Linked DNA regions of Homo sapiens: region 1 is linked to region 2. Evidence: promoter capture Hi-C in 16 types of primary human blood cells and fetal thymus (Javierre and others, 2016). All regions are on one chromosome and are shown on one strand. The core of a region is centred on a gene start or on the middle of the fragment in contact, and the rest is flanking DNA. Distances in the headings are between cores, read along the strand shown.

Region 1 (6,357 bases), core at 3,468-5,967, 2.6 Mb before region 2:
AGTCTCAGAACAATAAAACATTCAGTACCCACAGCAACCCTTGTAGCTACCAGACACATTTGCATGATCCAAGCATAACAGTTAAAGATGAATGGCCTTAATGCCTGGGGTCATCCAACTTTCACCATCTTCTATTTTAGACTTTTTCCTCCTCCTAATAGGCAGAGATGGGATGAATTCCTTAATTAAACAAGATCTCTTGTTTGAACCAGTTTAGACTGCAATCATTCATCAAACTTTTCTTTCCTCCCTCCCTTCCTCTCTTCCATTCTCCCTTCACCTTCTCTCCTTCCTTCACTCTCTTTTTTCTTTTCTGCATCCCAATGACTTGTTACTTACTGTGTTCTGTTAAGTTTAGGTACAAACAATAGAAGCAAGTGCTTTATTTAACTCCTTATTTCCTGTTATGGGCTGAATTCAACCCAGTCAACACCTTAATCTTGGACGTCTAGCCTCCAGAACTGTGAGAAATAAATTTCTGTTGTTGAAGTGACCCTGCCTCTGGTACTTTGTTATAGTAGCTCTAGCAAATGTACACATCCCCTTAGATTCTGTCTCTCTCTTTTTTTTAAAACACGGAACACTTTTAGGAATGTGCATGTCATCCTGGCGCAGAGGCCATGCTAATCTACTCTAAATTGCTGCTGAAGCAAGCACTCCTGTTAGATTTTTCAACCTCCACATTTTCCAAGACTTCTTAAAATACTGGCTTTTCAGACCTTTGGGTCTCATCCCTCCTGTTGCTACACTCCACCACTGCAGCGCATTTGACAATAGTGACTGTGTTTGTGTGAACGTGAGCAGATACTAAATCCCAACATTTTTGAACAGTTTCATTGCACTCCTACCAGGTACAGCGCATTCATTAATTTTAATATTTACTATCACAATGGGAACTAAGAAGTTGTCAGGAAACGGAATAAACTTAAAAATGGTTCATAGGAGAAGAAGACAGAAGACCGTGACCACAGAGAAAATTTTAGCCTAAAGCCTTCTTATACTGTTGTGCTAGAAAAACGTTTCTCCCTCAATAAATAGATATGTGTCTATAGGGCTTCTTCAAATTCTGGTGTTTGGGTGAAAATATTGAAATACTGTAGATGGCACCATGACATTGCACATGACTGTTTTAGAACAAAACCACTGTGTCGTTATCTCCCTCCCCCATTTTTTTTCCTTTTTTTTTTCTTAGTGGGCAAGTTATTGGAATCTTTAAAAAAATGATCATTTATGATTAAAACTTGGAAAAGGAATTATGCCCATTTTTTTCATGTTTACTCTCATGGCCTGTACTACAAAGCACTAGTCAGTAACCTCCCCTTGAAAAGTCTTTGGATAAGTGCATCATTATTCTAGCTACCAGCACTTGGTGAATCCCCATGTTAAACTCAACGTGTTTTGAAATTAAACCTCAGAGATGTTCCCAACCTTCTTTTATGTCCCTAGAGATAAGTTTACCAAATGTTAACAAAGAAATAATTGTTCTCAGAACTTATGGCAGCAAAGTGATGAGATGTAGGGTTGCTTTAAGACCGAGGCACAAATGGTGCTCTGTGGCAAACGTAAAGAAACTGTTCAATAATTACTGTTTTCAGCAAATGTAAAACTCTAAACCAGGGGCCAGCAAACTTCTTCTGTACAGATCCATCCAGATAGTAAATATTGTCAGCTTTATGGGCTACACGGTCTCTGTCCAAGCTACTCAAAGCTGCCATTTTACCCTGAAAGCAGCCATAGACAATACATATACAAACAGGCATGGCTGTGTTCCAACAATACTTTATTTACAAAAACAGGTGGCAGATTTGGTCCTGAGCGATAGTTTGCCGTCACCTCCTCAAACCCAGGCTTGCTTTCCCTGTAAAGAAGGCTCTCTCTTGTGGTGATTCCTCAAAGACCTAAAGACAGAAATACCATTTGACCCAGCAATCCCATTACTAGGTATATACCCAAAGGAAGAAATATATATCATTCTATTATACAGACACAGGCACACATGTGTTCACTGCAGCACTATTTACAATAGCAAAGACATGGAGTCAACCTAAATGCCCATCAATGATAGACTGGATATAGAAAATGTGGTACATATACACCATGGAATACTATGCTGCCGTAAAAAGGAATGAGATCATGTCCTTTGCAGGGACATGGACGAAGCTAGAGGCCTTAGTATCCTTAGCAAACTAACACAGGAACAGAAAACCAAATACCACATGTTCTCACTTATAAGTGGGAGCTAAATGATGAGAACGCAGAGACACATAGAGGGGAACAACACCCGCTGGGGCCTAGTGGAGGGTTGTGGGTGGCAGGAGGGAGAGGATCAGGAAAAATAACCAATGGGTACTAGGCTTAATAACCTGGGTGATGAAATAATCTGTACAACAAACCCCCATGACACAAGTTTACCTATGTAACAAACCTGCACATATATCCCTGAACTTAAAATCTTAAAATAAAAGTTAAAAAAAGAAACCTCTTTCTGTAGTAGGTTTGAATGCCTAATACACACATTTTCTCTCTCCTGCCTTTTAAAACTTCATGCTTATGCTTTCCCCATATGTTTCAAGCATGATCTTGTGTCATCTTTTTTGGAGGTAAAATGTTGGGTTGAGTGGGTTAGGAAACTGACTTGTGAGTGTGACATTGGAGATGGGTCTAATCATGATGTTGGCCTGGACATATCTCATTTCTTCCCATGGGACCCATCTGATTTGATTTGACTTTAGGAATAAGAGTTCAGATTTGGGATTGTGCTTGGTTTGGAGCTGGCTTGGTGAGCATGAAAATGCTCTTCAGTTATCTTGGAGCTAACACATGTGTATATTAACCAAACAGAAACCAACTTAGGAAGTAAATTATAGTAGTAATTGTATTAGAGGTAAAGCATATATACAGTTATGAACAGTGCCCTGTGTCCAAAAAAATGCATTACATAATTTTCAAAAATGTAATGTATTTATTAACATACTTATCCATAGTCAGGTTCCACAGGAGCTAATTCTGAATATGGTTCACTCAAGGCCACTCTGCCCAGGAAGTTGGGCAGAAGGGATCAATTCCCTTAAGAGGCATTGATCTGTTAGGTTCTTTCTTGCCTATCTAGACTTGAGCAGACTCCAGAAGAATAAAGCCAATAATTTCTAGGAATTCAATCTTGTAAACTTCTGGGTCAGGTAAAGATAGCAGGTTGCTTTTGATAGTTTTTGGCCTCATTTGAATTCTAAGCTTATGAAAACACTGTAGTTGTGAAATACTTTAGCATGAAGCCGAGGCTGGTGAAGGAAGGGTACCTTTTCTCTCCCACAAAAATCCTCTCCAACTAGATTTGATATATTTTGCATGGATTAATTCATAAACAATCACTATTGCCCATATGGAAGCTATGATAGCCAACGGACTGTAAAGTAGGCTGAAATCTGCAGTTGGCCCTCAGGTTTTGACCCACTGTCATTTGAATTCCTGCTTTATGTCAGCTCTCATAGGGAATAAGACATTCCAAAGGGTTACCCACACAATAAAGGACTTTGTCTATGTTCATGTGTTTTGGCCAGTTTGAAAATCTTATTGCGTGGTCTGGGCTACACAAATAGACAAAAGTAAATAGAGAAACCTGCTTCATGGAATAGCTTTGGAAACTGTGGTTGCTAAGATATAGATAGGCTTTAAGTAGAGAGAATTTCCATTATAAATATACTAAAAGGATCAGAAAAGTGAATTTACATGAAAAACATACACTGGGTGTTTGGAAAGTGCTTTTTCTATAGACGGTGTGTAAAACGCATATCAAGGGAACTCTTTGGGGGAAGACAAGAATTTACACAAGGTGTTGGGATGAAAAATATTGCTAACTTGTTTTAATTATTGGCTGAAACTTGATGGAAAGAGGAAAAAATCCTCCAGATGATACAAAGTAGACCTTTCTTCTCATGCTCCATAGAGGTCTTTCGGGAAAAATTTCCCATTTCTACTTATGTTTGGAAAACCTTGGGTGTGTATTTTCACTGTGTATTTAACCTTCTTTCCTGGCTTCTAGAACTGTGCTGTCCAATATGGTAGACACTGGCCATGTGTTGCTTTTGAGCACTTAAAATGTGGCTACTGTCGCTGAAAAACAGAATTGTTAATTTTATTGAATTTTAGTTAATTTAAATTTGAATAGGCACCTAGGGCTAATGGCTATAGGGACAGTACAGATAGAGAACATTTCCATCATCACAGAAAGTTCTGTTTAGACAGCACCCTGCTCTGGAGGGTGACCGGACAGTAATTTTTGCTCATAAGACTTGTTTTTAATATTGAAGATTTAGTTTTCTCCCAACTGATGAAGTTTAGGGAAAAATGCCACGAAGATGGCATTCAGATCTTATTAACATTTTCTCACTACTTATTTTTTCCCTCAGTTCTGAGTAATTCTGTCTATTTTTATCTATACCATATTATATTTAGTTCCTTCTAATGTAATTAAACAAAAATATCTTAATTTCAGAAAACACTTCTTTAATTAGTTGTGTTTGAAATGTCCTTACTAATCCTTACTATAATAACTGAATGGCCAATTTCATAGCCTCAGTGGGAAAAACGAAAAAAGAGAAAGACCTGTGTTCTTGATCTGTGCCAAACAGGAAAATACTGTGGTTCAGCAATAGAAAATGAAGAGGGAGGAAATGTTTCAGGTCATCAAATGGGGTCAGAAATACGCATGTCAATGTACTTTTGCTGCTCTCGCGAATTTCTCAAAAGGGTATCTGTGAATACCTAATTTAGGTTTTTTTGGTTTCATTTTAAGTACACATGAGCTTCTGGAAAGGGCGATATTTATATATTTTTTTCACTGTGGTTTACGATCCAGTGTAGGTATATTTCAGGATGTCACTCACAATTTCAATGTGGTCATAGAATTATTCAGAGAAAGCTAATTGAAAGCAAAATGCATTAAAATGACTAGGATTAAGCTGCCCACGGACACCAACTGTCTTGTTTTGTCCCCATTGTAAACACAAGTGCCCCAGAAGTGCATGTGCTGAAGTTGGCCTCTGTTGAATGAATGCATTTAAATGTGGAAGTTTTTGTATTATTATAGGATAAGAAATGTTGCAATTGCAAAAATGTTGGGGACTAGAGCCATCTCTGGGAGGTTTTCCTAGGACGTAAGCTCTGTTGTTTCGGAGTTCAGGGAGTGGGGCAGTGACCTGCATAAAGAGCCCCCAGGGAGAAGGCCCAGGGTCCTGGCTTCTCCGTGGGACTGTTTCCCGGGTCACAGAAAGGGAGACCCAAGTGTCAGAGATGGGCAGATTGAACTGTCCCTGCCGGTGTTTACAAGAGACACTTGACCTTGATGGAAAGCAGAGGGAGGACAGCAAGAGGGAGACGTTCTCTGTGTCCACATCAGCACCCTTTCCCCCTTCCTTGCCCTTTATCTTGTCTCATCCTTACCTTGTTGGAAAAACACATTGGCAACATCACAGCCCACTCAAAAGGTTGCCAACACCTTCTCCCAATAATAGCGATCAACATATGTAATAGACTTCAGCTGTCTTTTTGGGAGATCTGGCAACAAACTTAACTGAAAAAAGTCAGATTTTTACAAAGAAACACTGCTTTATTGCTTAAATGTGGAAATAATACAGAACACCAGCTAAGCTAATAGCTTTCTGAGAAAGAAAGTTCAAAGTGTCCATTGCTACTTCAATAACACATACATAAGTGGAAGGTGACCAAAAAGATGAACATGTAAAGAGGGGCCCTCATGTGTCGGCAAATTGTTGCTATTCTGAGCTCTCCACTTGCAGCAATTATCTAACTGTTGTTGGAAGAAGCTAAGAAACAATCCTCCAGCCCTCCCATAATGCCCTCTCCAAACAAATGAAAACACAGTGCAATTGGCTTTTCAGTGTTTGCTCCCAACCTGCCCCTTCCTGTGTTTCTCCCTGAACATGATTCTTTACTTCGTAGGTCATCCTCTCATCCTTGCATTCTTTGTGTATATTACTGGCTAGCTGCCAATCAGCAATGGACACCTCCCAGAGTTCTGGCAGACCTGGCTTGTGAAGTTAAGCAGGGCTTGGTGAATTTAGCTCACTTAACTGAGATATGAGAGCAGTGAAGTGATGTATGTAGAGAAAGGCACAGTTCTCCAGAGCTCTTGAGAATCCTTAAAATAAATATATGTTCCTTACAAATTTTCATCGTAAGCTTGGTGCACATTTCTAAGGCAGCTGGGGAATCATAGAGCAGCTCATCTTTTCTTCTTCTTTTTTTTTTTAACAGTCTATGGACTAATTAAGCTCTGAAAACCCATTAAAACACAAGTAGGCCATGATTTCAACACTTCTAAAGAAAAAAAGGCAGATT
Region 2 (5,840 bases), core at 372-2,871:
CTCATGCAGACCCGGAACAAATACGGAATTGCGGTGGGTAAATGTGGTGCAGAAAGTGAACAACTGGGTTTGTCCTGTCACTTTAGGCTTTTCCCTGCTGTCCCAGCTTCATGTCACTTACTTGCTATTAGATTTGGGAGTTCATTAGCTTCATTTTCCTGATGTATAAATAGGAATAATAGTAACAGCCTCTTTGGCTTTTGTAGGAAGTAAATGACATGAAGCGTATAAACAAATACTGCATGACAATAAATATTTGTCCTTATTTGTTGAGGACATCCAAAGGACATTCAGGGGCAAAAGTAATCCAAGAGTCAAGACTGAATGCCTAGTGCGGGAAAAGACACACAAGACAACATTTAGGGGAGCTGGTACAGAAATGACTTCCCAGGAAGGAAGTCTGTACCCCGCTGGCTGAGCCATCCTTCCCGGGCCTAGGCACCCTTGTCAGCGCAATGAGCAAGGGAGAGAAGGCAGGCTGCAGTGCAGCCCTCAGAAGGGCCAGAGCACTCCCTGGCTTCAGTCCTTCGCTCCAAGCCCTGTGTGGAGTGGGCTGTGGCTTGGTAACTAAATGCTACTTCAGGTCAAGAGCAGGGGATATATCTGGGCAGTTCTAGAGCATTCTAAACTATCTGGACACTAACTGGACAGTGGACGGTTTGTGTTTAATCCAGGAGAAAGTGGCATGGCAGAAGGTTCATTTCTATAATTCAGGACAGACACAATGAAGAACAAGGGCAGCGTTTGAGGTCAGAAGTCCTCATTTACGGGGGTCGAATACGAATGATCTCTCCTAATTTTTCCTTCTTCCCCAACTCAGATGGATGTTACATCCCTGCTTAACAACAAAAAAAGACCCCCCGCCCCGCAAAATCCACACTGACCACCCCCTTTAACAAAACAAAACCAAAAACAAACAAAAATATAAGAAAGAAACAAAACCCAAGCCCAGAACCCTGCTTTCAAGAAGAAGTAAATGGGTTGGCCGCTTCTTTGCCAGGTCCTGCGCCTTGCTCCTTTGGTTCGTTCTAAAGATAGAAATTCCAGGTTGCTCGTGCCTGCTTTTGACGTTGGGGGTTAAAAAATGAGGTTTTGCTGTCTCAACAAGCAAAGAAAATCCTATTTCCTTTAAGCTTCACTCGTTCTCATTCTCTTCCAGAAACGCCTGCCCCACCTCTCCAAACCGAGAGAAAAAACGAAATGCGGATAAAAACGCACCCTAGCAGCAGTCCTTTATACGACACCCCCGGGAGGCCTGCGGGGTCGGATGATTCAAGCTCACGGGGACGAGCAGGAGCGCTCTCGACTTTTCTAGAGCCTCAGCGTCCTAGGACTCACCTTTCCCTGATCCTGCACCGTCCCTCTCCTGGCCCCAGACTCTCCCTCCCACTGTTCACGAAGCCCAGGTGGGCCGTCGGCCGGGGAGCGGAGGGGGCGCGTGGGGTGCAGGCGGCGCCAAGGGCGCGTGCACCTGTGGGCGCGGGGCGCGAGGGCCCCTCCCGGCGCGAGCGGGCGCAGTTCCCCGGCGGCGCCGCTAGGGGTCTCTCTCGGGTGCCGAGCGGGGTGGGCCGGATCAGCTGACTCGCCTGGCTCTGAGCCCCGCCGCCGCGCTCGGGCTCCGTCAGTTTCCTCGGCAGCGGTAGGCGAGAGCACGCGGAGGAGCGTGCGCGGGGGCCCCGGGAGACGGCGGCGGTGGCGGCGCGGGCAGAGCAAGGACGCGGCGGATCCCACTCGCACAGCAGCGCACTCGGTGCCCCGCGCAGGGTCGCGATGCTGCCCGGTTTGGCACTGCTCCTGCTGGCCGCCTGGACGGCTCGGGCGCTGGAGGTGGGTGCCGCGCCTCGGAAGGCGGGGGGAGGCTGCACGGTGGGGACGCGATACCCCCCAAGACCTTAACCCAAGTCTTTAATGCAGAGAAGCCGGGGGTCCGTCAATGGGACCCCTCTCCTCTCCGCCCCCGCTTGCGGACGTCCAGCGCATCCCCGCTTTCGGCCCAGCCCTGCCCCAGGGAGTCGCGCTCCGGCCCGCTGAGAGGGAGCGGGCGAGGCGCTGGTCTCCCTGGTTCCGCGCCAGCCCGGGGCGAGAAGGGTAGGGGGCGACCCTGAGCCCAGACCCCGACTTAGTCCCTGCCTTGGAAGCGGGGGTCGGGGGAGGCGAGAGACATTCAGACAGGGGGGAAGGGGGAAGGAGCACGTGGGGAAAACCGAAAACGCAGCGTCCCTAAAGCCAGTCCTTCGCTCTTGAATCGTTGCCCTTTCCTTTCTCTTGGGCCCTGGGGAGGAGGAGGAGGAGTCGGGACAGCCCAGGAAGCTAGGAGCCCCTCGCTTTTCCCTGCGTTCTCCGCCTCGTTTCACCTTCCTCTCTCACCCCCATCCCCCTTCCTTGCTCCAACCTCTTTTCGCGGCTGCTGGCGGCGGCAGCCTGGGTGCGACCCTAGCCCGAGCCGGCGTCGGGGTCGCGCACCGCCTTCCACAGGCAAACTTTGTGCATGTCCGCGTCTCCCTTTTGTGTAACTTGCGAGAAATGGGAGGGGTCGGAGACCCATAGCCACCCCGCGCCTTCCCCAAGTCTGGACGTCCCGGGAGTTCGCTCGCACCCTAAGCTCTGTCTGAGAGGCAGAAGGTCCGCGGGAACAAAAGCCGCGACACCCCGCCCTCGCCGTGGGCCGAGCCGCGTTAGTCTCAGTGCGCCACCGAGGCTCCCGCCCGGCTCCCTTCCCGGGGCTGCGCGTCCGCCTGGGAGGGGGCAGAGACGCTGCCGGGGCTTCTGGCGGAGCCTCGGGGCCCCTCTGCTTCCCACCCTCGGATCACCTCCGAGGCTTAATTCTGTGCTGGGCTGTAAAGTCCTTGGCGGGGAGGAAATAAGGCGGAGAGTGGGATGTGCGTCTGGAAAGGGCAGTGGCGGATGGTGGGGAGGCACGGGCTCTGTCCTGTGCATCCAAGGAGGCGTTTGTCTGATTAAGGCGCGGCCTCTTCCCTGGCAGCTCTGGGGACTCTGGTTTAGTTCCCCTGGGGGCACAGGATGCTGGGGAGGGTCCGAAGGGTCTTTTTTTTAGGGTGCAGATAAAAGGATCGAATTGAGTGAAGATTAAGACGGAGAAGATGGCGCCTCTGCAGTGCAGCAAAGAAAAGCTGTGTGGAGGCTGCAGCCTAGTGAAATCCACCCACCACTAGGTGTATAACAAGTCTTCCCCATTCATCCAACTCTCGAACATTCAGCTAACGCCTGTGCACAATGACTGTTTTTCTTTACATCTGAAGATGCTTAGAAGTTGTTTGCATGACAGTTGGGCCAGAGGAGGCTGTATTTCACTTCGGACTTCGGTTGGGTTCCTGTTTGGCATCTTAACATTTGCAACCTTCCTTACCCGTTTTTCCCCTCTTTTCCCCCAGCCTCCTAGTAATTTTCCAAAAGAAAAAAAGCAATTTCCGGGCAGATGTTTTCCTGTAATTCCACTGAGGCTGTACAGACTATCACACCATTAGTTTTTTAGTTTCTAATTTGCAAGGTCATTGAACTTTTTTCTCTTCTGATTTTTACCCACAAGTGGCTCAGGAATCACCTTAGGGCTAGTTAAGACAGGTTGTTTTAAGAGTTAAAGAATTTCGTTTTCCATGTTTTAAAAAAATGCACTTAACTAAGAGAATTCTGATTTCTCTCATGACTTACTTACATTTATTTGTAGAATTATTCCAGTTTTCCCGAATGGTCTTACTACAGATTAAAAACCATACATTTAAGGAATTAAAAGCATATGATAACCGTATTTTTGAAGCTTTTGTCAAAACTTAAATATGTAACTTTGTTGAGCAATATTTCTTTCTGTATAAAAAGAGGAAGCATGTAGGCAGATTCGAATTTAGTTTTTGGTCTGTTTAATTGCATTAATATGCTCTTTCTGCCATCTTTTGGGACCTTTTCAGTAGCTATTGTTAACTCCTTTAAAGGGTGGAGGTGAGATTCACATTATGCCATTTTGCGAAGTGTTGGTAGAAGGGTAGGTAATTCAGTCTACTGAGGTTTGAGGGTGGTTTATCTGGTTCTCTCTGTGTCCACTGAAAAGATGTAATTACGAGTTGACTGTCTTTTATAGAGCTTAGAAAATAGGTCTGCTGCAGGTGGCTGTAGAAAAGAAATGAATAAGGGCAATGATAATGGGGCCTTGGCTATCGGGGGAAACATGGTTATTATCTGGGTTGATGATTTTGGCTGGTATGTTGATAGAGGTGTGAGTTTAACAAACCCTAATCTATATGATGTTTCACTACCCTAATATTTATTTATTTATTTATTTTTAAATCTAGCTTCCTCTTAAGTTTTATTTCCCTCTGTTGAGGGTTTAACCTAGTCACAATCATCTTACCTTTGTGGTAGTGCTAATTTATAGTTTATGGAAACCTGCTGCTACTGACTAGTACCTCGCTAAAGGTAGAAGCCGACACACAGAATAGTAAAGCTCAGGTTTGATGGTGATCTGTAAGGAGTCACGGTTCTTGCTAATCGATGAGAAACCATGATAACTGGCAGACTGCAGAAGCTTTTCTCTTGTCACCGGAACCAGCAGAGGCTCCTGAACGACATTTGCAAGGCTATTAGTACTGCGGAGAAGTTACTAGATGGAATAATACTGGTCCTGACTGAGGAAATGAAAAGGAACATGCAAGTTCACGAGGTTAAATGAGGAATGGCTGATTCAAAAAAATTAAAAAGAAATAACGTGATCAACAATATTGGTTTGAAGGAATGGGAGAGGTTGTCTTTATGTTAAGTCTTGTTGCTAGAGGATCTCTATTTTATGTTACTGTTTTTTGCATACTAGAGTCTTCTACAGATATTTGTATGAATGTTGTCAGTCATTCTGGAAATAAGCATAGCTATTACTTGCATTTCACGTGGCCACTAAACTATCAGTGAGAAGTGCATTAAATTCAGTAGAAATGTACATTGTTTCTGCAAATTGTATTACCTTGAGAATCTTACAAAGCATCTTTCATTAATACATTTCTTTTAAAATCTCTATCAATTACAAATGTAAAGATAAACCTGTACAGATGCATTTTAAATTTAAAGCTTCCAGAATGTAAGGTTTAGTTCGACTGCATACCTCATTACCTCCCCTTCCCTCCTCCCTCCCCTTACTCCCAGGAAGTTTGCAGGGTAAATAAAACATGCACATGATAATAAAACAAAGTGGAATGTACTAAAATACCAAAAGGAAAATACAGATTAGGTATACTGAGTAAATATGTTACAGAGAAAACTTCCTGTATTTAAAAAGTAAGGAACAATGGGATGAGATCATAGATAATCCTGGAGCATTTCCTGGTAGTAAATTTCCAGCCAGGTTTATATCCCAGGTCTGGGGATTGGAGGTTAAGTTTCTGCATATACAATATTTGTTTACATTCCTCTCTGCCTCTACCAGACAGACAGACAGACACACACACACACACACACACACACCCTCTGTCTCTTTCTCTCTCTTTCTCTCTCTCTCTCTCTCTCTCTCTCTCTCTCTCACTTGAGTGACAGATGCTGGTGCAGGGTATTCTCAACAGGAGTAGGGAATTTGAAATAAGGAGTTGAGAGGTCAAAGGTAAGGGGCTGAATGCAGGACCAGAGAGCTTCAGTAGCATCTTGATGGGCAGAGTATGAGATGAACAGTGGCAACGAGGAGGATAGGGAAAAATCACATTTTCTGTTTGTGTTTTGTTTTTGTCTGGTGGTTTTCAACCTCTCTCTGTTTCACTTGACTATGCTTGATTATGAAATCTTTTTTTTTTCTTTTTTTAATTTAAAGATCTCAACTGGCTTTGTTGTGATTCTACATTCAGGCAACA

Evidence for each region. The method cuts DNA at HindIII sites, captures the fragments that hold promoters and counts their contacts. A CHiCAGO score of 5 or more calls a contact.
Region 1: a contact is called between a fragment that was not itself captured here and the fragment with the promoter of APP in region 2, in 1 of 17 cell types (non-activated CD4 T cells). The highest score is 6.7, in non-activated CD4 T cells.

The regions. Positions count from the first base shown.
Region 1 is chr21:28,737,504-28,743,860 of GRCh38, reverse strand. It overlaps a transcript of HEMK2 not described here and the pseudogene LOC124905067. Among named protein-coding and RNA genes, the nearest start is that of HEMK2, 140 kb to the left of the region's middle. RefSeq lists a silencer at 960-1,254. The HindIII fragment of the contact is 2,967 bases long and covers 3,234-6,200 here.
Region 2 is chr21:26,166,551-26,172,390 of GRCh38, reverse strand. It overlaps APP (amyloid beta precursor protein), which reads left to right and starts at 1,621. Exons shown (of 18, transcript NM_000484.4): 1 at 1,621-1,827. The coding sequence starts at 1,771. APP-DT (APP divergent transcript) reads right to left here and starts at 1,524. Exons shown (of 4, transcript NR_186396.1): 1 at 1,339-1,524. RefSeq lists silencers at 1,269-2,098, 2,599-2,868 and enhancers at 1,886-2,410, 2,909-3,118. The HindIII fragment of the contact is 2,642 bases long and covers 1,136-3,777 here.